Regions from separate parts of the Homo sapiens genome. Here region 2 is linked to region 1. The links are contacts of gene promoters, found by promoter capture Hi-C in human tissues and cell types (Jung and others, 2019). All regions are on one chromosome and are shown on one strand. Each heading gives the region's core, a stretch centred on a gene start or on the middle of the fragment in contact. The rest is flanking DNA. Distances are from core to core; before and after follow the strand shown.

Region 1 (3,413 bases), core at 310-2,809:
TTGGGCCCCAGTGGGGGACAGGGCCTGTCTGCATGAAGTGGACCGGAGACCTGCAGACCCCAGGAAAGTGTCACTATGGGAGGGAGGGGCAGGCAGTCAGTGGCTGGTGCCATGGGGTGAAGCCACCATGGGCTGGGGGTGAAGAGCCGGCAGGAAGGGGACCAGTCACAGGGAGTGTGGACAGTCAGGGGTTTGCTTTCTGCTCCTGAGTTGGGGTGTGCAGCGTGGAGCCCACAGCCTGGTTCTGGGCCAGGGCACAGTGCCAGGGGCTCCGCTCTGACCTCCAGGAGGGAGACTGGGCCCGGGACCCCTGTTTTCTGCTCCCTGGACTGCCTAGCCCTGAGTGCCACGGATGACCAGCGTTCTGTTTTCTCTTCTCAATAACCCTATCTCTTCACACATCCCCAGGCCCAGTGCTTGCCGGCTGTGGTGACCCTGCCTGGTGCTGGAGGGCAGTATGGGAGGCACCAGTGTGCCCTGCTCACCCCATTAGTGTCATCCTGCCATCTTCTGTGTCCCCTTGGCCCTGGCACACACCCATGTGGCAAACACGGGCCGTGAGGCTCCCTGAACAGCTTCGAGGCGGGTGGGCTTCTGGAGCCCTCTTGGCTCTGAGGACAGCCACAGTGGGGTCAGACGTCAGGGATTGGTGCAGCCCCACGTCAGGGGTGATTGTCTTGACTTTCTCTCCATTTGAGTTCTGGGGTGGGTGGCTCCCTTCCCCCTTGCTTACAGGTGCTGTCCTGGGCACAGGAGGTACGCGCCTGGCTCTGCCACTGTTCTCTTCCCTCTGCTGCAAAGCCCAGTTAAGGAAATGTCTCCAGGTCCAAAGAGATAGGATGGTCTGGGCCCCACCTGTTGGAAGGGAACAGCCAGGGAAGAACCACCTGCCTGGGCAGGGCCTCGCCTGAGGGAGGGCCTGGGGCAGGGCACAAGGGGTTGATCTCAGCCCACAAGCCCCAGGGGCAGCCCAGGAAAGCAGGCGACGGATGTGGATCCTGACCTCCTGAGAGGTGTGAGGTGCAGGGATACCCACCTCTGCCTTGACGGCCGCGCACCCCTTAGGAAGTGGCTGTCCAGCGCCTGCCTGTGCTGGGCCTGGGAGAGGAGCTGTCTTGCCAGGGCTCCCAGGCAGGGAGAGGCAGGTGAGGTTCTCAGCCGATGTGTTAGAGGTTGAGCATCGCCTGTGCCCAGCTTGCTGGCTGTCAGTGCTTGATGTGCCCATCCTCAGCTAAAACCCAGAGCTGGCATGTTGGTCATCCCCACCTCAGACGGGACGCCCAGTCCAGAGCTGGTGAGCCCTGGGCCAGCCTTTGGGCCTGGCCTGCCCCATTCACCGGCCAGCGCCCCACCTCCCTGGCTGGAGGGTCGGGGAGGGGCTGGCAGAGATGGTTGGTCCACAGGGCTAGCCCTGGGTGGTGGGAGAGGGGCCCAGGGTCAGGGTGAGAGAGAGCTGGGCCAGGGAGCTGCTGCAGGATGATTTTGAGGTGTGGGGGAAGCACTCTTGGTTGGTTTTGGTTTGCTTTTTAAAAATTGTGGTAAAATACATAACAAAAGTAACTATCGTAACCTGAGCAGTTCTGTGACATGAAGTGAATTCACTGCTTTGTGTGACCTTGGCCACCATCATTCCCCACCACTCACTCCCGCTGGGCTCCCAGCCCTGCCCCACCATTCCGCTCCCTCTACAGCTATGGGTTTTACAAAGAAGGATGCAGGGCGCCCTGACTGCGGGGTGAGGGGCAGGCCTGCCCGCGGTGTGGGCATTCGCTGAAGGGGGACGCCCAGGTGTCTGCCTGAGTTACGGGTTGGGGGGTCGGGCATGTGGGGAGGGATGGAGTTGGAGGTGCATGCTCTCAGAGCTGGTAGGGGTGGCCCGTTTCGTCCCGTGTGTGAACTGGAGATGAGACCCGGCGCCTGCGATCCCGCAGACCGCGCCCGGCCGGGTGTCACTTGTGGGCGCACGCTGCCGGGATGCTGGGCCGAGCCCGCGGTTTAAGACCCAGATCTCAGCCAGGTCCCTTTCGCCGTCCGAGCCTCTGCACCTCGTGGGCTCCGAGCACATCCAGGCCAGAGACTGCGTTTGGGGCGTGGGCACGGGAGACCGTCATCAGCCAGGACGCTCTCGACCGATCCGGCCGCGCCCCGCCCAGCCTCGTAGCGCAGGCGCTGAGTCCAGGCTGACGCGCAACTCTGGGAGCGTTGCGGCACGCGGGGCCTTGCCTACTGTGGGAGGGGCTTCTGGGGGCGGGCTTCTGTCGGGCCAATTAGGATCGCCGCAGGGAAGGCACGCGCCGCGGCTGAGCAACAGGGGCGCGCGTCACCTTCTCTAGTTAACCCGCGCGGCCCCGGGCACAGAGCCCGAGGCTGCGCGGTCCCCGGCGGGCCCGCGGACCCCCCCCATCTCTGCGCCCCCCACATCTCTGCGGACCCCGCCTCGCCCCAGCCCTCCCATCCACAACCCTCACAACCTTGCATACCCCGCTACGCTCCCCACCGCGCCCTCACATTCCTGCAGACCCCGTCTCCCCACAACGCTCCCCGCCAACGCTGCGGAGCTCCGCGTCGCCCCAGCGCTCCCTGCCAAGCCCCCCACACCCCTGTAGACCCCGCCTCGCCCCAACCCTCCGAGCTGCTCCCCTTATACCCTTGCGGACCTAGTTTGTTTCGTCCCAGTCCTCCCCGTCGCGTCTCCCACATCCCTGCGGACCTCCCCGCGCCTCGCCTCTCCCTTCTGTTACGTATCACGCACAGGTGGATCCCACTACGACCCAGCTTGGCTCCTGTCCCGCACCTCCGCACCTGGCCTCTAGCCCCGCCCTCACTGTCTTGGGAAATGAAGCGGAGGGGTGGGCCGGACACTCTAGAAGCACCCTGGCTCGGAGCTTCCCTAGCTCGGAGTTGGTTTGGAGCCCAGGCTAGGGACCCAGGGTGGGCGCAGCAGGGGAGATTGGCACCAGAAGCGTGGAGGAAGGGCACCTCTTCAGCCCGGCTTTTCCGCCCCTGGAGTCTGGGACAGCTCCGGAGCGTCCGGGTACTCCCTCCCAGACTGGCCCTGTTCCTTTTATCACATTTATGTCACACACGTTTTTTCTAAATGGGTTTACACTTTTGCTATTACTTTGCAGTTCGGTTTGTGTGTGTGTGACGGAGCCTGGCTGTGTTGCGCAGGCTGGAGTGCAGTGGTGCGATCTCTGCTCACTGCAGCTTCCGCCTCCCGGGTTCAAGCGATTCTCCGCCTCAGCCCCCTTAGTAGCTGGGATTACAGGCGCACGCCACCACACCTGACTAATTTTTTTGTATTTTTGGTAGAGACAGGGTTTCACTATGTTGGCCAGGCTGGTCTTGAATTCCTGACCTCAATTGATTCGCCCGCCTAGGCCTCTGAAAGTGCTGGGATTACAGGCGTGAGC
Region 2 (3,413 bases), core at 611-3,110, 150 kb before region 1:
AGCAGCTTTGTCACTCAGGAAATTACAAGGGCTTTAGGAGCTCAGTGCCAGGAACCAGGGCAGAGACCAAATATATATTTTTTTATTATGTCAGTCTTGAAACCTCTTCTGGACACTATTCCTTAAACATTCAGGAAGGGTGAAGGGCATGGCGTTTAAGTCAAGATTTCTGAGTTAAAGGATTTCTACAAATGACTGTATTTGAATTTTTATATATTTTTTACTTTTTATTGAGACAAAATTCACATAACGTGAAATTCATCATTTTACTCATTTTACAATATTCAATTCAGTAGTTTTTAGTATACTCACAGTGTTTTGTTGTTTTGTTGTTGTTGTTTTTTTCAGAGTCTCACTCTGTTGCCCAGGCTGGAATGCAGTAGCACCATCTCAGCTCGCTGCAGCCTCCACCTCCTGGGTTCAAGCGATTCTCGTGCCTCAGCCTCCCAAGTAGCTGGGATTACGTGCACCTGCAACCATGCCTAGCTAATTTGTGTGTGTGTGTGCTTTTTTTTTTTGAGACGGAGTCGCACTCTGTCACCCAGGCTGCAGTGCAGTGGCGCAATCTTGGCTCACTGCAACCTCTGCCTCCCGGGTTCAAGTGATTCTCCTGCCTCAGCCTCTTGAGTAGCTGGGACTACAGGCGCATGCCACCACACCCAGCATTTTTGTATTTTTAGTAGACACAGGGTTTCACCATGTTGGCCAGGATGGTCTCAATCTCCTGATCTCATGATCCACCCGCCTCGGCTTCCCAAAGTGCTGGGCCTGGCCTAATTTTTATATTGTTAGTAGAGATGGGGTTTCGCCATGTTGGCCAGGCTTGTCTCAAACTCCTGACCTCAAGTGATCCACCCACCTCAGCCTCCCAAAGTGCTAGGATTACAGGTATGAGCCACCGTGCCCAGCCTGTATACTCACAATGCCATGTAACCATCACCACTATCTTATTGCAGAACATTTTCATTGCCCACAAAATAAACTTATACACATTATCAGTGACTTCCCATTGCTCCCTTCCCCTAGTCCCTGGCAACCACTAATCTGCTTTCTGTTTCTATGGGTTTGCCTATCCTGGATATTTCATATAAATGGAGTCATACAATATGTGGCTTTTTATGTCTGGCTTATTTCACTTAACATAATGTTTTCAAGGTTTATCCATATTTTAGTATATATTTGTACTTCACTCCTTTTAATAGCTGCATAATATCCATTCTACTCACCTGAATGTTTGCCCATTCCTCAGCTGATGGACATCGGGTTGCTTTCACCCTTTGGCTATTGTGAATAGTGCTGCTATGAACATTAGTGTTCACGTTTTTGTTTGAACACCTATTTTCAGTTATTTTGGGTAAATACCTATAAGTGAAATTAATGGGTCAGATGGTAACTCTATGTTTAACTTTTTTGTTTGTTTGTTTGTTTTACTTTTTGAGAAATTGCCGTTAGTGTGAAGTAGTACCTTGTGGTTTTGATTTGCATTTCTCTGTTGACTAATAATGTTGAGCATCTCTTCATGTGCTTATTGGCTATTTGTATACTTCTTTGGAGAGATATCTATTCCAGTCCTTTGCCTGTTTTTTTGGTTGGGTTCTTTATCTTTTTGTAGTTGAGCTGTAAGAGTTTTTTTTGTTTTTGTTTTCTTTCCATTTTTTTTTTTTTGAGATGAAGTCTCACTCTGTCACCCAGGCTGGAGTGCAATGGTGCGATCTTGGCTCACTGCATCCTCTGCCTCCCAGGTTCAAGCGATTCTCCTGCCTTAGCCTCCTCAGCAGCTGGGATTACAGACGTGCACCACCACGCCTGACTGATTTTTTTTTTTTTTTTTTTTTTTTGTATTTTTAGTAGAAACAGGGTTTCACCATGTTGGCCAGGCTGGTTTCAAACTCCTGACCTCAGGCGATCCACCAGCCTCAGCCTCCCAAAGTGCTGGGATTACAGATGTGAGCCACTGTGCCCAGCTTTTTTTTTTTTTTTTTTTGAGACAGCCTCTCACCTCTCACTTTGTTGCCCAGGCTGGAGTGCAGTGACAGGATCTCACCTCACTGCAATCTCTGCCTCCCAGGCTCAAGTGATCATCCTGCCTCAGCCTCGCAAGTAGCTGGGACCACAGGTACAGGCCAATTGCCTGGCTAATTTTCGTATTTTTTTGTAAAAATGGGGTTTTACCATGTTGCCCAGGCTGGTCTCAAACTCCTGAGTTCAAATGATCCTCTCGCCTTCGTCTTTCAGAGTGCTAAGTGAGATTATAGTCGTGAGCCACCGCACCCAGCCTGTAAAAAGTTTTTAAGTGTATATTCTAGATCCTAGGCCCTTGTTAGTTATATGATTTGCAAATATTTTCTCCTACTCTGTGGATTGTCTTTTCCCTTTATTGATAGTATTTTTAAATTTAAAACAAAAGTTTTAAATTTTGATGAAATCTAATTTATCTTTTTTTTATTTGTTACTTACGCTTTTGCTATTATATTTTAAAAATTATCGTCTAGGATTTATACTTATATTTCTTTTTAAGATTTCATAGCTTTGGTTCTTAGATTTAGATCTTTGGTCCATTATGAGTACATTTTTGTATATGGTGTGAGGTATGGGTCTACATTTATTCTTTTTCATATAGATATTAAGTTGTCTCAGCACTATTTGTTGAAAAGACTATTCCTTCCCCATTGAATGGTCATGGCATCCTTGTAAAAAGTCTATTTACCATAGATATATGGGATTGTTTCTAGACTCCCAATTCTATTCCATTGTTCCATATGTCGGTTGTTATGCCAGTACCACAATGTCTCAATGACTGTAACTTTCTAGGAAGTTTTGAAATTAGGAAATATGAGTCCTCCAACTTTGTTCTTCTTTTTAAGATTGTTTTGGCTATTCTGAGTCCCTTGCATTTCTATATGAATTTTTAGGATCAGCTTGCCTATTTTTGCAAAAAAAAAAAATAATAATAATAATAATAAGGTATTGGAATTTTAGTAGGGATTACATTGAATCTCTAGATTGCTTTGTGTTTATTTTTATTTTTTTGAGATGGAGTCTTGCTCTGTTGCCTAGGCTGGAGTGCAAAGGCTCAATCTCAGCTCACTGCAACCACTGCCTCCTGGGTTCAAGCGATTCTCCTGCCTCTGACTCCCGAGTAGCTGGGATTACAGGTGTGTGCCACCATGCCTGGCTAATTTTTTTGTATTTTTAGTAGAGACAGGGTTTCACCATGTTGGCCAGGCTGATCTCGACCTCCTGACCTCAGGTGATCCACCCACTTCGGCCTCCCAAAATGCTGGGATTACAGGTATGAGCCACTGCACCCAGCCTCTAGATTGCTTTGGATAGTAATGTCATATTAACAAAATTAAGTGTTCCAATCTATGAACACAAAAGGTATTTCCATTTATTTAGGTCTTCTTTAACTT

Evidence for each region. Contacts are between HindIII fragments. The study calls those that stand out against the background at their distance.
Region 2: a contact is called between a fragment that was not itself captured here and the fragment with the promoter of CEMP1 in region 1, in 2 of the 25 tissues and cell types used here (dorsolateral prefrontal cortex and lymphoblastoid cells).

The regions. Positions count from the first base shown.
Region 1 is chr16:2,529,849-2,533,261 of GRCh38, forward strand. It overlaps CEMP1 (cementum protein 1), which reads right to left and starts at 1,560. Exons shown (of 1, transcript NM_001048212.3): 1 at 187-1,560. The coding sequence starts at 1,225. The coding sequence ends at 482. AMDHD2 (amidohydrolase domain containing 2) reads left to right here. Exons shown (of 11, transcript NM_001330449.2): 11 at 1-1,569. MIR3178 (microRNA 3178) reads right to left here and starts at 2,157; the gene lies at 2,074-2,157. RefSeq lists enhancers at 1,963-2,012, 2,791-3,413, 2,793-2,842. The HindIII fragment of the contact is 25,225 bases long and covers 1-3,413 here.
Region 2 is chr16:2,380,878-2,384,290 of GRCh38, forward strand. It overlaps the pseudogene ABCA17P. Among named protein-coding and RNA genes, the nearest start is that of ABCA3, 42 kb to the left of the region's middle. The HindIII fragment of the contact is 4,418 bases long and covers 1-3,413 here.